Regions from separate parts of the Homo sapiens genome. Here all the other regions are linked to region 1. The links are contacts of gene promoters, found by promoter capture Hi-C in blood cells and fetal thymus (Javierre and others, 2016). All regions are on one chromosome and are shown on one strand. The core of a region is centred on a gene start or on the middle of the fragment in contact, and the rest is flanking DNA. Distances in the headings are between cores, read along the strand shown.

Region 1 (3,031 bases), core at 300-2,799:
AAGACTTATTTGAGCACAGGGGTTCAAGGCTGCAGTGAGCTATGATCGCACCCCTGCACTCCAGCCTAGACAACAGCGCGCGAGACTCTGTCTCAAAAACAAGTAACAAAAACAAAATGTAACTCTAAATGTAGCCTATTAAACTCAGCTTAGGTCATTTAAATTATTCAATACCCATATTAATACCTTCAAAGCAAACTAATTCCACTCTGGTTATAGCAAGTTGGGCATTTCTGGGCAAGTGGTTTGACTGGAGTCAGGATGTCCTCTTTTTGTGAAATTATGGCAGTAGTGCCTGCTTTGCTAGAATACTTGGTAAACTAATTTAATGAATATCTGTAAAGTACTTTGAGCTCCTTGGAGAACACTTCCATATATAAAGAAGCCTTATGACCTGCCTGCAACTGCAGATTTTGCAAACGTGATCTTACTTTTTCTCTCTTTTGGGATATGCTCCCCTTTAAACTGAAGCTCAACCTCCTGAAGGGGGTTTCTTACTAGGAAAAATCAGACAATTTGAGGAAATAGCTATCACCTCCAAGATCCCGGAAGCAGTACTAAATAAGAGACCTCAGAACAAGGCAATACTAGGTATCTCACCTATCCCATTACCAGTCCAATTTCTCTCTCCACTTAAAGGAGGCTTCCAGGTCTAGCCTACAGGAAAGTTCACTTATTAACCCTCAGGCAGAGTACTACCTGCTAACCAGGTTAACACACATTTCCTTCGTAGCACTGTAATTCACAGTGCAATGACAGCAATACGCTTCTATAACTACAGCTTCAGACTGTGCTCCTCAGCCTTACTCAGAATAGGCTATCAACACTGACTCGTTAGGATATTCAAGGGGGTATATGTATGTGTGTGGGGGGGGAATTCCCGACACCGATTTCACCATGCTTCTGTGGTCACTGCAGGAAAAAGGTAGAGCTCTCTGTTCTCTATCATCGCTCTCTTTGGAATATTATTCTCACTTCAAGCATTCTGCCTGAGCGAAGCCGTCACTTCTCCAACACATGGTCACAATTCTGAAGCTGCCAGGCGACTGAACGCAGTCGGCAGCACCCACCACTACCGGAGACTCAGCCCCAATCCGAAGCTTCTCCCTTAGTCAGGGATTGGGGCGCTGGGTTCCTGGTGTCACCGCCGGGCGGCGACCCCACCACAATCTCCCCAAAGCGCCGAAGCATGTCAGCCCGAAGATCTTGGCTGTCGCCTTTCCCCGAGCCTGCGGTGCCCGACAGGAGCCCGAGTTCACGCCGCCGCGCGCCAGAGCAAGAGGACGCGCCGCAGCGAGGGAAGCGGGGGCCGGACTGGGGCCCGGCGCCCTGATAGGGAAGGGGCGTGATCGCAGGCTGCTCGCGGCGAGGGCGAGACCGGGCGTGGGCTGCCAAGAGGCGACGCCGTGGAGCCCGGGGAGGGGACGTGGGGGTGAAGACAGGGGCAGCCCAGCGGCTCGAGGGCAGGCAGAAACGGCCGCGGCTACTCACTGAGCCAGGACTCCAGGCTTTCCCCTTCCGCCTCCGCCATATTGCAGCCGCCCGGCCCCGCGGCTTCAAAACTCGCGAGAGTCTGCACGAGCTGAGACGGGGCGGGGCCTGCATGGGGTCCTGAGAGGAGTGAGTGCCGTCACCGAGGGCCGCGCCAGACTGCGACGGATACAGGGAGGGCAAGGGTTTCCTTTTGGCGCTCCCCTTTGGACCCCGGAGTGAAAAACTCTAACGTCCAGATCAGTGGAGAGAAACGCAGATTTAGGACCCTGAGGAGTCTTTTTCACCCGTTTCCCGTCACTCGCTCAGGCGCGCCGAGGGCAGTCCTTGTGGGGTCCTCGTGGCCAGCCAAGATGGCTGCCCCCGCAGTGAAGGTTGCCCGAGGATGGTCGGGCCTGGCGTTGGGCGTGCGGCGGGCTGTCTTGCAGCTTCCAGGGTGAGAGGGTGGCGAGCAGCGGCGGGGGGGCGCTGCGAGGAAGGAAGGGGGCCACAGGCAGGCCGCGTGGGCCCCTAGAGAGAGCATTGCCCTGGGGGCCGGAGTATCTGGATTCAAGCTTCTAAGTTAGCTGCGTGACCCTGCGCCAATCCGAAGGTTTAGTGACTACCTCTCGCCTAAGGAGTCTGGCTGATCTAGGGTTCTAACGCGGAGCTGAAAGTGCGGTTCAGCTAAAGAGCTCAGATCTGGGATCGCCTGTGAATTGGGATGGGTGTGTAGGCGCCAAGCCCATCCTTACCGTTAGCACTTGACCAGGAGGAGACTTTACCCGCCTGCTTGGGGAATGTCCTCCTACTTGGGACAAGGGCCTGAATTGTTGTGGCTCAGGTTTAGCTCGCGGTCTCCGCGCCGCTCCCCCTCGTCGGCGCGTTGGCAGTCATGCCTATTGTTAAGTCAAACCTACTCGCTTGTGGAGTCAGCTTTTGCCTGCCTCCTCCTTTCCCCCCCTCCCAGGCTAACTCAGGTGAGATGGAGCCGCTATAGTCCTGAATTCAAGGATCCCTTGATTGACAAGGAATATTATCGCAAGCCAGTGGAGGAGCTAACTGAGGAGGAGAAATATGTTCGGGAGCTCAAGAAGACTCAGCTCATCAAAGCTGCTCCAGCAGGGAAAACAAGTTCTGTGTTTGAAGACCCAGTCATCAGGTTAGATGGAAACAAACACTTGTTACATGGACTGGGACTATCCCAGGGAGGGTTTCTGGTGAGGATTCTGTGATACAGCCTTGGAGAGCTAAACGTGTTGCTTTTCTCTTTGAAGTAAATTCACCAACATGATGATGATAGGAGGAAACAAAGTACTGGCCAGATCCCTCATGATTCAGGTAAACAGCACTTCCCTCCTCAGTCATCTTTCTTGCCCCCCTACCCCGTAGCCTTGTACTTGGTACTTTCAGTGTAGCTTAAGAGCAAATGGATTCATGTATCTATTATTCAGATTAACTTCCCTGCATGTGTACGGGCTTTAATGAAGCCCTGTAAGAGTCAGCAACTGCCATTCCTTGGTGTTTCGGAAGTAAACACACAATTAAAAAAAAAGGAACA
Region 2 (3,031 bases), core at 397-2,896, 500 kb after region 1:
TAGGGTGTGTGTCTCAATTGTCAGAAGCCACCAACCTGCTGGGCCAAGGGACCCACTGCCCTCCATTTTCCCACCCTCTGAGGTTGCTGGGACACTTCTAATTGTCCTCCTGGTTTAGGGCTCTGGAGGGAAAAAAGGCTGGGGTTCAAATCCTGGCTCCTCCAATCAGGTCACGGGAAACCCAGGGCAAGTTCCCGACCTTCTGGGGGCATCAGTTTCCTCATCTGTACAATGGGATGCTCCACTCTACAAGCCTTCCCCACAGTGTATCAGACAAATGAATGGGCTCTGTGGCTGTGAGGTGGCACTCCTAGTATCAGTGAGGACTTGGCTCAGGCCTGGGCCCCATACCTGGGTAGTACTGAATCACTCCCTTGACATAGTTGGCCCACCGAGGAGTCCCAGGCTCCAGCGAGCGCTGGGCTGTGGGCAGTGGAAACTGCAGCCGCTGGGGCTCATCGGCACCCTCAGAGGTGGTGAGGAGAGACACCAGCCCATCCTTGCGGGGGCTGCCCACCAGCACCGTCATGAGCTCCAGAGCCTGGCAGGAGAGACAAGCAGTACGTGAGGCTTCCGCCAGCTGGAGTAAGCCTCTCCAATGACACTGCCTCCAGCCGAGGTTCTGATGCCTCCACAGTCATCAGGTTCTGAACCTCCAGGTTCAGCGTCGCAGGGAAGATCCTGAGGGCCAGCTGACCTTGGGGGCTTGAGCCCTGCCCCCTTAGGTCTTCAGGGGCGGGGCGGCTGCAGCTGGAGCACAGACCTGGACTCTGCCCTGAGCTGTGGGGCAAGGGGGAGAGCTAGCCCAAAGGGAAAACAGATCACTGGAGCTCCAAAGCCTTTACATTTTGGGGTGGCTCTGGACATCCTGTACCTGTGCACTCCCCAAGCTGCAGATGGGGCGGAAAGCGCCCCCCGCTGAAAGCTGGGAGTCCTCACTCCCAAGTCGCAGCCCCGCCAAGAACCTGCTGTGTGACCTCCAGCAGTTCACTGGGCCTCTCTAGGCCTCAGTTTCCTCCTCTGTAAATTGAACGGGCTGGGCCAGAAGGCTACGTTCGCCCAGGTCTGCGGTTGGGGCCCCACGGTGGCCGGAGGCGCGGAGTGTCCCCTTCTGCGTGGCACACAGGGCCTCACAGTTTAAGGGGAACATGCTCCCAGGTTGAAGGCGAGGAGCCCCAGCCCCCAGAGGGCGGGCTTGAGCCAAGAGGCGGCCGCGCACCCTCTCCCGGCCACTTCCTCGCTTCCTCCCTTCCAACGTGGGGAACAGCCTGTCCCGGGGACTCTTCCGTGCACCGGTGCTCCAGGCGCAGCTGCCCGCCCCACATCTCCCGCGGGAAGAACTCGCCCCCAGCGTCCCCGAGGCCCGCCCTCCTCGGCGGCCGGGACAGGCGGCGGCGGGCTAGGGGCTCCCCGTGCAGCCCCTCACCATAGGCAGCACCAGGCCCTGGTTGTAGTCCGTGTGTTCCCCGATGAGGTTGACGCGGCCCGGCGCTGACACGGCCAGCTCGGGCTCGGCCCCGAACTCCTCCCGGAAGGCTCGCCGGGCCTCGGCCAGCAGCTCCGCGACCTGGGGCTGTCTCAAAGCAGCCATGACGCGCGCCTGCAGCTCTGCACAGCTGCTCCGGCACAGCCCCGTCGGCGCGGGATGCTCGGGCGGGGCCCCGCGCGGGGGTGCGCACATTCCCGCCAGCCCCGCCCCGCGCCCGGACGCCCCGCCCCCAGACCTCAGCCGGTTCCGCCCCCACCCGCAACTCCCGTGGGAATCCAGCTGCTGGGTGGTGGGTGGCAGGGGCTAATGGTGCCGGGTGGGATACAGCGCCCCCGATGGTGTCCTTCCCTCTGGACTTCGGGAAGAACCAATGAGCACTCACTAGAGTGAGAATAGCCCTGAGTGGCACTTGGCATGACCAGGATTTCTGAGCTGCCCTTCCCTGGCGCTGGTGACTTTCTATGTGCCTCACCACCCACCACCACCCACACAGCCAGAGCAATGGAGCTGGCACCCGGTTGACCTGGGATTCCCAAAGGGATCCCCTAGGTCCCCAGGGCCAGCAGCTGTGAGAGGTCATCAGCCTCTGATCACCGGTCTCCAAGAGGGTGACCTGACACTCACTGTAAGTAGAGATAAAGACAGACAAGTTTGGGCCGGGCGCAGTGGCTCACGCCTGTAATCCCAGCACTTTGGGAGGCCGAGGTGTGCAGATCACCTGAGGTCGGGAGTTGGAGACCAGCCTGACCAACATGGAGAAACCCCATCTCTACTAAAAAATACAAAATTAGCTGGGCATGGTGGCTCATGCCTGTAATCCCAGCTACTCGGGAGGCTGAGGCAGGAGAATCACTTGAACCTGGGAGGCGGAGGTTTCGGTGAGCTGAGATCACACCATTGCACTCCAGCCTGGGCAACAAGAGCAAAACTCTGTCTCAAAAAAAAAAAAGACAAGTTTGGTGGTGACCAGAGAGTCAATTTTACAAGCTCCTTTTCTAGGTAATACGCAACAGCTCCTAGCAATGGAGAATTGGACTAGGGTGGCGGTGGCCAGCAGTGGGCCCAGCCCCTCCCTTAAGGACCTGCCACAGCTGTCCAGGTAGGTTGTGCTGTTGGCCCCAGCAGGCACTACTTCAGCCCAGAAGCCCTTGTCTCAGAGGCGTGGCCTTGTTCCCAGTCAGGCACTCTTCTCTTGCTATCCTGCATCCTAAACCTGCTGGCCGGCCCCAACTGCTGCCTTGATACCTGTCCACAGCTGCCCACCCTACATGGAACCTTGAAACTGAAAGACTGAAATGTAAGCAGCTTGCTTGGGGTTAGGGTGGGAGTAGTGTGGGGAGTTATGGCCAGGGATTTAGCTTGGGGCCTGCTCAGGGGTGTGCCCAAAGAGTGGGGAACTGCATTCCAAGGGCAATTCTGAAAACTCTTAGAAGAAAACATAGGGGTACAGTTTTGTGACATTGGTTAGGAAATGTTTATTTGGTTTCTGTTTTTGAGACGGAGTTTCGCTCTCGTTGTCCAAGCTGGAGTGCAATGGCGTGA
Region 3 (3,031 bases), core at 163-2,662, 380 kb after region 1:
AAAAAAATTATCCAATTGGGGCCGGCAGTTAATTGAAAGAGCTGGTCAAAGCAACTTTTGTTAAAGAACACCTAAGTTCTCTACACATCTATTACTTTTTTACATATCTCACATTAAATGGAAACATACACCTTTTCCTTGGCCGGCCTTCCTGGCCTTTTCTCTGAGTGTGGGCTTGCCAACCAGAGCTCCTGGATTGCTATCTTCTAGTTTTGGTTGAGTGTGGGCTTGCCAACCACAGCTCCTGGATTGTTATTTTCTAGTTTTGGTTTCTTTAAAGCAGAACAAAAACTTAAAGTCATTGGAACTTAAAGGCAAAGGAAGCTGGGTGTGAAAACCTTCTGGGTTTTTACAAAATGTCCCTGATGTTTAGTTATCATGTCTGCATCTTTTTCAACAGGAACATTATCTGAGTGATTCCAAAGTCATCCCAAAGTAGTCAATAGGTATTTCTAGAAAGAATTTCTTTCTCCACTCGCTCTGAGGTGCAGCACAGGTGCTTCAGCGCTCAGACTGTGTGCTGCTGGATTCAAACTCCAACTCAGTTACTTACTAGCTGATGACCTCGGCTAAGTTATTTAACCTCTCTGTGCCCGTTCCCCACATGTAAAATTGGGGTTTCAGCTATTATTGTTGCTTCATTGGTTCCCGGGATGTTAAATTCAATTATGTAATTACAAGTACAACTGCCATGAACAGGTTTGGGAACCAACACTTGACTCTTGATAAGCATCTGACTTAACTGACGGAGCTGCACGCAAAGGGTGAGCTAGAGACTGGCCCACTGCTGTGAGCGTTCAGCATGCCAAGGGCCTTAGTCAGTAAGTTTCACACAAGGAAACAGAAAACATCAGGTAACCCGGGTCAGTGACGCCCATGATAGTTAAGAACGACTGTTCTAAATCTGCCTCCATCTGTCATCCAACCCTGGCCACACCTGGGGAGAATCACCTGGGGATGTGTAAACAATACGACATCCTGGCAACCCCAGAGACTGATATAAGTGGTACCAGGTGGGGCCTGGGCATTTCTCAAAGCTCCTAGATCTTTACCAGCTGGGATAAGCACCCGAGGGCTAGAAGGGAAGCCCTTGGAGGGCAGGGCCCGCCTCTCTGATCTCACAACTGGACACACAGTGCCTGGCATGGTTCCTGGCCATAGCGGGCCCTCACATCCTAGCTTTTAAAGGAGTATATGGTGGCCACTAGGTTTCAAGCACCAGGGCACAGGCTTGATCCCCTCTTCCCAGCTTCCCTATTGTGCCAGTGGGCAGAAACCAACCACACAATGTTGCTGAGGCCGTGCCCAGGGAGCAGACAAAGGCACCAATGGGAAGCCTCAGGGGGGGAGCAACACTTCCCCCAGAAACAGTTCCAGGAGGCACCAGGCGCCAGCCAGGGCTGCAGTTAATCATTCACCCCACAACACAGGAAGTGAGCCCTACGCCAGTCCCAGCCCCAGGGCTTCCTGAGCTCGGGGCAGGTCCGCAGTCCACACGTCACCCAGACAGAGGACAGCCCAGCCCAGCCACAGGTGAGGCGGCCTGATGGCCTGGGGCAAAGGCCCTCGGTCCAGTCTCTTCCCCGTCCACCCCAAGTCTGACTTCTCTCAGGAGGGACTCATGAACACGTGCCCTGAGCACCCCCAAAATGACATCACACAAGGGCAGAAAGGAGCTGAAGGGGGAACGTGAAAGGCAGAAAGGGAGCCGTGGTTGCCAGGCAACCAGCCCTAGCCCACCTTTGTTTGTTTGGTGACAGCAACTAAGGTCTGGTCAGGGCCGCTTGGCCACGCTCATGCCTTTTCCTCTCAACAGTTGCTTCTTTGAGTCAGGGTGCAGCTCTGGTCACCTGGCGGCCTCTTCAGCTCAGCCCTCCACAAAGTGTGAGCCTGAAGGACCACCCTGAATTGCCCTTGTAGGACCCAGAACAGCTACCAGCAGAATCAGGTAATGGCTCCCTCCTTCTCCACCTGGGCTGCCCTCACCTGGCTATGGGCTTGCAGTCTGCGATAAGGAGCTCCGCTTCTAGAGGACTCCTAAGTTCTATTCTCAGCTGCTCCAAGGAGGCTACCGAGGCCTCAGCTGGAGTTGGCCCCTCCTCGGCTCCTATACGCTCTCTCAAATGCCTCCCAAATGTTTGGCAGTTGGGGCAGGAAAAACAGGGAGACTCTATCATGATGCTTTTTAGATTCTAGCCAAGTAGGTCTCAGGGATGAGAGAGAGTCCTTGCTCACACTTGCTACTCAGGAAAGAAGGACTGGAGAATCCAGGGGCATCCCCTAGGAAGAATCCAGGGCCCCACTTCTTGCGCCAGTCCTGGCTCCTGTATCTAGAGCGGGGGAAATGCCATTTGCTGCTGGCTGCAGGCATCCAGCACAAAGACTCTAGCCCTTTCATGTCCCCTGGCTGCCAGGCGGGCCGGCTGCTCACAGAGGCTGCTACAGAGGCTGGAGTCGGCGGGCAGAGCATAGCACCTGGGACAGGGCCTGGGAGGGCTGCCTGCACTCAGGTCCTCTGTCCCTCTTTTCCAGATTCTCATGGACCAACTGGTATTCAAAGAGACAATCTGGAATGATGCGTTCTGGCAGAACCCCTGGGACCAGGGGGGCCTGGCAGTGATTATCTTATTCATCACCGCTGTCCTGCTTCTCATCTTATTTGCCATCGTGTTTGGTTTACTCACTTCCACAGAAAACACTCAGTGTGAAGCGGGTGAAGAGGAGTGACCTGACTTGCTGGGGACTGAGATGGCAGCAGGGGAGGCGAGCTGACCTGCCCCCATTCCAGTGGTGGGCCCCTTCGCGGTTCCCTCTGGCTCAGGGGCCAAGCCCTGGTGTCTTCCTTTCCCATCAGGAAAAAGTCTAGTAAAATACTGTATCTGGCTTAGGGTTGGTCAGACTAGTAAGATGGGGAGGCTGGTCTGAGACCAATTCTGGCTCCTTGACCCTATTGTTTTTAGGGTTCCCCGACCAGAACCCTAAAAGCACATGGAGAGGATGGCTCCACTGCCTCAGGTGGAAGGAGCTATGG
Region 4 (3,031 bases), core at 173-2,672, 330 kb after region 1:
AGGGGTGGTCTCCAGGCCTCTGGCGTCTCCTGGGGTCAGCTGCAGGCACTGCCCTTTCTGATGGGACTGACGCCTCCCTGGACCTGCCCCTAGCTGGGATGCCTGCTGGTGGGGGCTACTGCTGCCCAGGGATGCTTGAACACCCCTCCCTGTACAGGTGGAGGATATGCTGCCTATACTCAGCAGCTTTGGCCATGCCAAGACCATCCTCAATGCCAATGCCAGCCGCTTCGGCCAGGTCTTCTGCCTCTACCTACAGCAGTGAGTGGCAGGGTTGCAGGGGGCACCTACAATCACTTACCCTTCCTGGGTCCTTGGGCTGCTTCCCTGGGGTCCAGACCCTGGTAGGGCTTCTTCTGCACGGGGCCCCTGGGTGTTCTGCATCCTGGGCACTCACACCCATCTTCTGTGCCCACAGAGGGGTCATCGTGGGAGCCTCTGTGTCTCATTATCTACTTGAGACCTCCAGGGTGGTGTTTCAGGTAAAGGCAGCCCTTCTATCCACCCCTGCCCAGTTCCCAGAGTAGGAAGGGCAGAGGGTGTCACTGTCGGGGTGTGGCCTCTAAGCCCCTAGGGCACTGAGCCCCTAAGCCAGTCCTGTCCCCAAGGCCCAGGCTGAGCGGAGCTTCCATGTTTTTTACAAGCTGCTGGCAGGGCTGGACTCCATAGAGCGGGAGCGGCTCTCCCTGCAGGGACCGGAGACTTACTACTACCTCAACCAGGTCGGGGGAGCCCTTGTGGTGCGGCGGGGAGGCCTGCCCAGAGGAGGATCTCGGCCCGGAGGTCTGAGGAGTAGCCGGAGTAGAGGGAGGCTATGGGGTGGCAGGCCCCGCTCCCTCACCCCTGCTGTGCTCTGCAGGGCCAGGCCTGCAGGCTGCAAGGCAAGGAGGATGCCCAGGACTTTGAGGGGCTGCTGAAGGCACTGCAGGGGCTCGGCTTGTGCCCAGAGGAGTTGAATGCCGTCTGGGCTGTGCTGGCCGCCATCCTGCAGCTGGGCAACATCTGCTTCTCCTCCTCAGAGGTGGGCTTCCCCGTGGGCAGGGGCCATCTGGGGTGCTGGGTCTGTAGAATCAGGGCAGTGGTAATGACGCCAAATGCTGGTGTGTAGGAGACTACAGAGTGCTGGGCTGCCCTGAAAAGTGGGTAGATCCCCACTGTGTAGATGAGAAAGCTGAGACATAGAGCTTCTCCACTCTCCCAATGTCTGTGCCTCTAAGCTGCCACCCCTAAGAACATCTGGCATTAGATGAGCAGCTATGGTCAGGCATGGTGGGTCACACCTGTGATCCCAGCACTTTGGGAGGCCGAGGCAGGAGGATCGTGTGAAGCCAGGAGTTTGAGACCAGCCTAGGCAACATAGAGAAACCCCGTCTCTATTAAAAAAAAAAAAAAAAAAAAAAAGGGTTGGCGGTGGTGGCTCACACCTGTAATCCTAGCACTTTGGGAGGCCGAGGTGGGTGGATCACTTGAGCCCAGGAATTCTAGAGCAGCCTGGGCAACATGGCAAAATCTTGTCTCTACAAAAAATATGAACAGATTAGGCCAAGGCGAGCAGATCACTTGAAGTCAGGAGTTTGAGACCAGCCTGGCCAACATGCTGAAACCCTGTCTCTACTAAAAATACAAAAATTAGCTGGGTGTGGTGACACGTGCCTGGATGTGGTGGCACATCCCAGCTACTTAGAGAAGCTGAGGCAGGAGAATTGCTTGAACCCGGGAGGTGGAGGTGGCAGTGACCTGAGGTTGCGCCACTGTACTCCATCCAGCCTAGGTGACAGAGCGAGACTCCGTCTCAGAAAAAAAAAAAAAAACAAAACAGACTGGGCGTGGTGGCTCATGCCTGTAATCCCAGCACACTGGGAGGCCTAGATGGGCGGATCACCTGAGGTCAGGAGTTCGAGACCAGCCTGACCAATATGGTGAAACCCCGTCTCTACTAAAAATACAAAATTAGCCAGGTGTGGTGGCACATGCCTATAATCCCAGCTACTTAGGAGGCTGAGACAGGAGAATTGCTTGAACCTGGGAGGTGGAGGTTGCAGTGAGCCAAGACTATGCCATTGCACTCCAGCCTGAGCAACAAGAGCGAGACTCAGTCTCAGAAGAAAAAAAAAAAAAAGATTAGCTGGGCATGGTGGCATGTGCCTGTAATCCCAGCTACTGGGGAGGCTGAGGTGGAAGAATTACCTGATCCTGGGAGGTGGAGGCTGCAGTGAGCCTTGATCGTGCCACTGCATTCAGGCCTGGGTAACAGAGTGAGACCCTGTCTCAAAAAAAAAAAAAAAGAAAAAAAAAAATCAAACGAGCAGCTGTTATGTACCTGGGTACTGTGTAAATCACTTTGCATTTGTTTTCTAATTTAGTTTGCAAGACAACCCCCTAGGAAGGGTTACTGCTTCCCCTTTAGCAGTGAGGCCGTGGGGCGCAGGAAGGAAGGAGCCTGGCCAGAACTGTCCGCCAGCAAAGAGGGAAAGTAGGACTCGAACTCAGGGCCCTGAAAACCATAGCCTCGCTCCTAATGGCCCAGATCTCCTCATGTGACATATCTCCCCTTTGGTGACAGGGCCACTTACCAGGCAAAGCCCGGCCTGCCCTGCCTGGGGAGTGTGTCCATTCCTGAAGCAGAGATCTCCCTGTCCCTCCCTCTCTGTGTAGCGAGAGTCCCAGGAGGTGGCTGCTGTGTCTAGCTGGGCTGAGATCCACACAGCAGCCCGACTGCTGCGGGTACCACCAGAGTGCCTGGAGGGGGCTGTCACCAGGAGGGTCACGGTGAGCCCGAGGGTCCTGGGGAGAGGGGCCTGGCCTGGCTGACCCACAGGCTGAGTAAGCACCATGAGGGCTGCAGGCCTGACACACCAGCTGTGCCTCCTCTGCCCTCCAGGAGACGCCCTATGGCCAGGTCTCGCGATCCCTGCCCGTGGAAAGTGCCTTTGATGCCAGGTGGCCCTAGAGACGGGTGAGAGTCAGAGCAGGGCCCGAGGCACGGCTCTATGTGGCTCACCCACCCGCCATGCCTACAGGGACGCCCTGG

Evidence for each region. Contacts are between HindIII fragments. The CHiCAGO score rates a contact against its expected background, and 5 or more counts as called.
Region 2: the fragment with the promoter of GALK1 here is called in contact with the fragment with the promoter of GGA3 in region 1 in 1 of 17 cell types (fetal thymus); the score reaches 6.6 in fetal thymus.
Region 3: a contact is called between the fragment with the promoter of ERLN here and the fragment with the promoter of GGA3 in region 1, in 1 of 17 cell types (endothelial precursors). The highest score is 5.1, in endothelial precursors.
Region 4: a contact is called between a fragment that was not itself captured here and the fragment with the promoter of GGA3 in region 1, in 1 of 17 cell types (fetal thymus). The highest score is 5.2, in fetal thymus.

Annotation. Positions count from the first base shown.
Region 1 is chr17:75,260,057-75,263,087 of GRCh38, forward strand. It overlaps GGA3 (golgi associated, gamma adaptin ear containing, ARF binding protein 3), which reads right to left and starts at 1,550. Exons shown (of 17, transcript NM_138619.4): 1 at 1,492-1,550. The coding sequence starts at 1,531. It overlaps MRPS7 (mitochondrial ribosomal protein S7), which reads left to right and starts at 1,823. Exons shown (of 5, transcript NM_015971.4): 1 at 1,823-1,927; 2 at 2,441-2,632; 3 at 2,748-2,811. The coding sequence starts at 1,845. RefSeq lists enhancers at 956-1,055, 1,526-1,935, 1,732-2,609. The HindIII fragment of the contact is 945 bases long and covers 1,099-2,043 here.
Region 2 is chr17:75,763,546-75,766,576 of GRCh38, forward strand. GALK1 (galactokinase 1) reads right to left here and starts at 1,647. Exons shown (of 8, transcript NM_000154.2): 1 at 1,427-1,647; 2 at 352-541. The coding sequence starts at 1,591. RefSeq lists enhancers at 662-871, 902-1,131 and silencers at 1,242-1,391, 1,622-1,811. The HindIII fragment of the contact is 22,999 bases long and covers 1-3,031 here.
Region 3 is chr17:75,644,839-75,647,869 of GRCh38, forward strand. ERLN (endoregulin) reads left to right here and starts at 1,413. Exons shown (of 2, transcript NM_001162997.2): 1 at 1,413-1,948; 2 at 2,533-3,031. The coding sequence starts at 2,539. The coding sequence ends at 2,727. All of the region lies in intron 8 of RECQL5 (RecQ like helicase 5), which reads right to left. RefSeq lists enhancers at 1,340-1,484, 1,652-1,731 and a cis regulatory region at 1,405-1,418. The HindIII fragment of the contact is 6,633 bases long and covers 1-3,031 here.
Region 4 is chr17:75,591,820-75,594,850 of GRCh38, forward strand. It overlaps MYO15B (myosin XVB), which reads left to right. Exons shown (of 64, transcript NM_001395058.1): 6 at 158-261; 7 at 419-482; 8 at 609-722; 9 at 860-1,021; 10 at 2,656-2,769; 11 at 2,882-2,940; 12 at 3,021-3,031. Among named protein-coding and RNA genes, the nearest start is that of MYO15B, 5.5 kb to the left of the region's middle. The HindIII fragment of the contact is 5,609 bases long and covers 1-3,031 here.